2 separate regions of the Homo sapiens genome follow, and region 1 is linked to region 2. The links are contacts of gene promoters, found by promoter capture Hi-C in human tissues and cell types (Jung and others, 2019). All regions are on one chromosome and are shown on one strand. Each heading gives the region's core, a stretch centred on a gene start or on the middle of the fragment in contact. The rest is flanking DNA. Distances are from core to core; before and after follow the strand shown. Region 1 has its middle 96 kb from the start of LINC00161. Region 2 holds the start of CYYR1 (cysteine and tyrosine rich 1).

The links. The method cuts DNA at HindIII sites, captures the fragments that hold promoters and counts their contacts. A contact is called where the count stands out against the background at its distance.
Region 1: a fragment that was not itself captured here is called in contact with the fragment with the promoter of CYYR1 in region 2 in 1 of the 25 tissues and cell types used here (dorsolateral prefrontal cortex).

The regions. Positions count from the first base shown.
Region 1 is chr21:28,441,161-28,444,492 of GRCh38, reverse strand. No RefSeq gene overlaps it. Among named protein-coding and RNA genes, the nearest start is that of LINC00161, 96 kb to the left of the region's middle. The HindIII fragment of the contact is 3,386 bases long and covers 1-3,131 here.
Region 2 is chr21:26,571,262-26,574,960 of GRCh38, reverse strand. CYYR1 (cysteine and tyrosine rich 1) reads left to right here and starts at 1,675. Exons shown (of 4, transcript NM_001320768.2): 1 at 1,675-2,093. The coding sequence starts at 2,021. The HindIII fragment of the contact is 7,865 bases long and covers 1-3,699 here.

The DNA of each region.
Region 1 (3,332 bases), core at 189-2,688, 1.9 Mb before region 2:
GAAAGCCCTCTTTCATTCATTTTTCTTCAAAGATTTATGTGATTTTTTTCTTATCTTGATGTATAATAATAAGAATTAGCTGCAAAAAGCTACAAGAAAGGTTGCATAAGTGCATACATTCTTTTCGAGTTCTGCTTCCTGTGGTAGTTCTTCACTTTTAATGATGAGTTGCTGAAGCAGGCACTCATTCTTTTATTGCATCATTTATTCTTGTTATCTGGGGAAGTAACAATGACAAGCTTTCCTAAGTAACAGCCCAACTCTTATTTGTGGCCCCTTTTCCTATGTCAATATTAGGATCATTCTATCAACGAAGAGGTCCTATTACCTAGGAAACCATGAAAGGTAAGACCTATGATCACAGGTGCTTACATGCATGCAAATGTAAAAGGAATACTTAAACCCTCACCTAACTTCTTTGGAAGTTTCAGTACACAGTTTTTGTTGATAGGCAATTAAGGTGCGTGTGTGAGTGTAGTATGTGTTTTTGTAAGAAAAAAAGTAGAGGAAATGGGAGATAATTTAGTGTGCTGGAAAGTTATAGAATTTGATATCTTGTTTTGCATAGATGATGCATTGTAGGAGTGACATTATTGTGAAACTTTGTTCAGTCGGTTTTCCTTCAAGCGATTTTGGTGCAGTTTTTCCAATCCAGTGTTAAGGGCATGACGATGTATTTTTCACAAGCTTGTCTAAGAGGAAACTCTGACAGATTATGATGAGGAAAACTAAATCCACTCATGTCATGTAAACACATAGAAGACTTCTCAGTGGGGTCTCTGCCTTGTACCTCAGATGCCAAGGGGGAGTTTGAGATTTGTCAAGTTGTTGACAACTGCCTTAGTCCATTTTGTGCTGCCATAACAGAATGACACGGATGTGGTAATTTATAATGAACAGAAATTTACTTCTTGAGGCTGGGAAATCCAAGGTTGAGGTGCCAGCATCTGGCAAGGGCTTTCTTATTGTGTCATCATATGGTGGAAGGCAGAATGTCAAGAGAGAAGGAGGAAACCAATTTTACCCTTTTATAAAGGCACCCATTCCACATGTAAGGGTGAAGCCCTCATGGCCTGCCACCTTTTAAAGACTCCACCTCTTGATACTGTCACAATAGCAACTGCATTTCAGCATGAGTTCTGGAAGGGACAGTTTCCAAACCAGAGGAGCAATTGCCTATCAGAGGTTGCAAGAAAGAGGTATTTTACTATTATTTGAGCTACCATTTTTAGCTTTATCCATACTTTTAGAAATAGGTGTTTTATTGAACTCCAATTATCCAGTTTGAGAATGTCATAATTTTCTATTAGGAGTCTGGCTGATCTAGTCATTAAAAAAGACACATAATAAATGTATAAGCATGTTTTTAAATGGACAGTTTATAAGTTAGTTAATAATATTAGTGTTAATTACTGTTACCACTAAATAAATAAACCACTACATTTTATGTTCTTTCAACAATCTGAAAAAAATATTTTGTAAAAAATTACTGTAATGCAAAATTTGGCTTAGTTAGCAACAGAGAGGGTAAATATCTGCTTTAAAGATCACAATGTCTGATGGCTATGAAACAGATGAGAAGTTTTGAGAAGATGACATCAATATGGTGTTGATTGGTTTCATGTGGCTTTGAGCTTTTCTGCCACTGGGAAGATCACTACTGTACATAGTTTACATATGATTCATGTGTGATGCCAGATTGCAGCTTCCTTCTTGCTGTATCTTAAGTGTACTTGGTATTCTGATTCAAGAGTGAGATCTTGAAGCTTTGGCAAATAGAATTGCCTAATTTTCATTTGTCCACTAAGCAATGCATGCAGTTAAAAAAATGAAAACAATACCAAACCTCCTTCTTTTGCAGTGAAGGAGCCCAAAACAAGTTACTCTCTTTCCGTCTCTCTCTTTAACTTAGAATATTGGTTATTTTGTATTCTCACACATGTAAAATTCCTTTCCTTTAATGCATATGTTCTCAATAAAAAAGAATTTTCCACTGAATTTCCAGGAAGACTCAACATAATTTAAAGATGGCACCTTACAAAAAGAACTCTCAATAGACAAGAAGAGGAGGCAGTAATAAACAATTATTTTCAAGACAGAGTTACCTAAAATCTTTCCTTGGTTTCTTACCGGCTACAGGACACTTTTCAAACTCTTTGGTTTCACTTTGACAAACTTGCTTCTTGCAATTCTCCTAAGGTTGTGTGTATACAACCACGTGGGATGTGGTGAATTTAGTCGGCCACAATGTAATAGTCTCTTCTCTATACATAAAATTAGATTACTAAAATCCCTATGTAAGAAACTTACAATCCCGCCAGGGAAAATTAGGATTGGGGAAATGAGATAATTAGTTAATCTCTCAAAAATCTGATGAACATAGTTTATGTTTTCTAAAATAGAGCCATGAAAACAGCCCACCAAATAATGAGAATGTCAATATCTCACACGTTCCTTCATTTGGTAATTAATAGCATGGAATGGATATATATTAATTTATCATTCTTTGATCTCCAGTGACTTTTCAGTATCTCTGTTCTCCTTTTTCCATATATTAAATACAGAACTTATACATTTGTTTTGTTTGATGGTGTTAATCTACAGTGCAGAAGAGTCCCTGTGTTTGTCCACTGTCTAATTTTCAAAGCCTCTCTGATTTTATGATTTTAATTTACCTTTTATCAGTGTGGTTTCACCGCATTTCTGCAGACATTCATGTGGATGCCTGAGCTGAAAAACTAACCTCACGTAGTCTTTATTTCTCAACTTGCATTCCCCAGTGCAGGGCCCAGTGGTGCCAATTCTGAACATAGTAAATTTACAAGAAAGCCCTTCCTCACCTATAACTTCAGGGATGTTTTCACCCATAAACCAAAACACTCAATTGCAAGGTTTGGGGATAATCTTCTCCCAGCTCTCTTTCTCTCTCCTACAGTTTCATTGCATTGCCTCATCTCTCTTTTATCTTTTCCCTTATGAGTTATTTCAGCTTCCTTTTCTTAACTTCTAGTTTCCTATTTCTCTAATAATCTAAGTCAGGGAGAAGTGTAAATTCATGTGCATGGAAACTAAAATTTCCCCGAGGATATAATGTACAGAGTAAATCCATCTTCACTAGAATTTTAGAACTTGAGATCGGGCATGTGTGATTATTCTACACATTTTTAATGGGTCTCTGTGCTTTCACATGTGATTTTGCCTCTTCCAAAAACAGTCTTTGTGTTCTTCACCATCTGGGAAATGTGTTTTCATCCATGTAAACCCAAATCAAATGCCATTTCCTTTATGGAAAATTATCCAGCTTCATCAGGCAGAATAATTAGCTCCTCTGT
Region 2 (3,699 bases), core at 426-2,925:
AGCCTTCTTTAGAACATGGTGGATGGTTGGGCCTTCACCAACGTGTAAAACACAGTAAAGAGCTTAGCTTATGTTTATTTTGGGGGTGATGTTTCCTCCCACTCTCGTATTCCCTTGCAGCACTGCATTTACAGGAAAAAATTCCTGGAAGAGAACTGACTAAATTAAGTACATGTGTATTTGAATTTTCGTACATATAACCACACCGTTTCCCTTAAGAGTTCATTTGGTTTTGTATTTGGTTGGTTTGATACATGAAAAGTGATGTCTCACTGTCAATTTTATTTCTATATTTATATTTATTTGTTTTGTATGAAGTGTCTATTAATATCCTTCCTCAGTTATCTCTTGGTTGTTTTTCCTATTGATTTTTTTAAGCTCAGTATAATAATGAGATTAGGACTTTGCATTGCAAATATTTTTGCCAGTTAAATGTCTGCCAACTGGAAGTATTAATTCTTATTTAGTCAAGTTGGTCAATATTTTGTTTTATGGTTTCTGAGTTTTTTATAATGCTTAGAAAAGGCTTCCCTATTCCACAATTATTTGAATGTTATCCTCTTATTTTTTAATCTAATATTTTCATAGTTGTATCTTAAATATGTAATTCATATAGAACTGATTTTGATGTAAAAAGATAAGGCTCCACAGATGGCTATTTACGGCCTCAACACTTTTCACTGAGTAACTCATCATTTCCCCTACTACTTTACATTGATATTTCTTTAAACCATAAATTAAATTGCTGTACATACTCATGTCTACTTTTGGGTTACCTTTTCTCTTTCACTAAGCCTATCTATTCCAATGTTAATCTAAACTGTTTTAATTATTGTGATATTATATGTAATATCCCATTCATTATTCCCATTCATTACTCTTGTTTTAAATAGATATTCTTACATATTTATTTTCCATATAAACTTTAGAATCAGATTGGTTTGAAAAAAATCATGTTATTTTAAAAATTGGGATCAATTTTATTTCCAAATGTATATAATAATTTGGGGAATCTTGTTGTCTTTATCCTACTAAATTTTCTTAGTGAAAAAAGTATCTCTTTACTTATTCGTATCATTTTTTTTCCTTCATGCATAACATTGAGAACTTTCTGATTTTTGTTTGCAGGAAAGAAAACTATTGGTTTGCTAAACAAGAGCTTTATAGTTGATTAACTTTGATTTTCCATGTATACACGTATTTCATTTGCTAATGACAATTTAGCTTTCATTTTTCATAAATCTTTTTCTTTCTCTTGTTTAATTGCATAGGCCAGTAACTCCAAAACGTCAAAATCATAACGACAGTGTGCACTGTTGTGTTTTTTTTTTCTGAATTTACAGGAAAAAATAATAAACATTTTATCAGCTTTCAGCAGAGATGCCATACACTTTCTGTACTTCCCAATCCTGAGTTTTCTTCACTGTCACTCTTTGTCGAATACCTTCAACCCTGAAAATTCCTTCCCTTTGTTTAAAGATAAAAAGCAAAGTTGTTCATCCATTGCTTAGAAAGGAAAAATTGTAGTGGAGGCAAGGTTAAAAAGGAGCAGGCTGAACTCCATAGCAATCGCCAAAGCAAGGGGTTAGGAAAAGTTTCTTGGTCCCCTAGTCACTCTTTAGAAGGAAGAACCCGGGCTTGGGGAGGAGTCGGGGCCACCCCCGCCCCCTGCCCGCAGTCGTTGCCACCCGCGGAGATGAAATGTGAGCCTGGGTGGCCAAGGACGCCGGAGTGGCCGCCTTCCCCGCGCCTGAGCGCAGTGGGGCGAGACAAAGAGACCTGGGCCCCCAGCGCAGCCCGTCTCGGGCCACGGGCGCCCCAGCTCCGCGGAGTCCCGCAGTCGCTGGCCCGGGACGCGCCCGGCCCGGGCTCCCTTGGAAGGCTCCCTAGGCAATGGCCGGGTCTCTGCTCCACCCGGCTCTCAGGAGCGCTGCTCTCTCCATCTGATCGCCCTCCATCCTCCCCATTCCCTCCGGTTCCGGGCTCTCCCTTCGCTCCAAGCCTCAGGCCACCGGCTTGGATGGACGCTCCGAGGCTACCCGTGCGTCCAGGGGTCTTGCTTCCGAAGTTGGTCCTGCTCTTTGTCTACGCAGGTCAGTGACGGAGGGCGGCGGAGAGGGTCAGAGGCTCGGGGCTGCCCTTGGGTCACGGTCCGGGCTAACGTGGGTTGAGCTGGACGGACCGGGACCTTTGCAGAAGGACCTTTGCAGACGCTTCTGCCTTTTCCGCGAGGCGACGGCAGAAACCCGCGCACTTCCAGCCGCACGCGGTTTTGTTTTGTTCCTTTTCCTTTAACTTTTACCTTTTGCATTTCTTTTCTTTCCCTTTCCACCTTGGAAATAGCAGTCTCGTGTTTAGGGGATTTGACTCTCTGGATAGAGTAAACTATATCCAAATAAACTTATCTGGATAGGCTAGGCAGTGGCCTCTCCATCTTCTGCTTTCTAAATAGTCCTGGTTTTCCCTCTTGTGAATAAAAAAAACTTAGAGCTTTGTTTTCGTTCTTTGGGAGATTCACAAGTGTGGTAGACTGAGCTATTGGACTGAAGTCAAACACAAGGTTTTTGAGAAGCATGAATTCACCCAGGGTCTAATCTGTACAGGTTCGTTGATTTAGATAGACACTTGTTTATAAGAGAAGGGCATCTGGTTTCCCTTCTAATTATTCGTAGTAAGAACTGCTAATAATTAACGAAGCAAAGTGGGTTTTCTTGTTTGTGATTAATATGGAGCCCCAAATGGCCTTTCATTGGTTATTCAGGTATAAAGTGTCTTACACACGTGGTCTTTGCATCAGTTCATATTCACAAAACAATGCAAGCTAAAAGCAAAGTTCTTTGTAAAATGTTTTTGTGTCTCTAACGTCCTATGACAAAAATCGCAGGCTCACCCCTGAGCCTCCAATACGAAATGTATATATAGCACTGAAATTTACCTTTGATACTCAAAAAGATATTGCAACTGAAATGATGTTCTTCAGTGTTGCACCTGAGTATTAAAAGAATTGAATTTCTCATTCAACCTTGCTAGAAAAGAGTCACCATAACTTCTGTAGACATTTTTAGCCTGTTTATTGAAATGCAAATTAGTGGCTGTCTAGGAGTTACCATTTTAAAGATGTTTTATGGCAGGAAAAATGCTGACCTTCTAATATGAAAATTCATAAAAGTAGGATAAGTTCTTCGTATTTAATGAAGAGAATTACATTTAATCTGTTTACAACATTTATTTCTTTTATTAAATTTGTATAAGGTTTTCAGAATTTGAGGGATTAACAGAGTCAACTGCATTAATATTCATTTTCTATTGAAAAAATCTCTTTATTAGTTCTTTCGAAGTAATTATGCTTTTCACTTCCTCTGCTCGACAATATTTAATACTTTCACTCACACTTATTCAACCACTCCATTGAACCACAATTTTGTTTGTTTGTTTGTTTGTTTATTATATTCCCTGTGGTAAACTGAAAGCTTCTGCTTTACACATCTGCCCCCTCCTCCTGTTTCCCCAGTGCTAGGTGCCCAGCTCCTCAGGGCTCAGGAAATCAGCGAAGCTGGCCAGCAACAAGGGTGGTTAGTTTAGAAAGTTTTCAGTCCATTCATTTCTCTTCTTTGGAATCCCTCTATCATAAGCTACAAAGTAGTTGTAAGCCAGTGCTAAGTTGACTTACTATCTTTGCTAAGAAGTGTTTAGCTAATA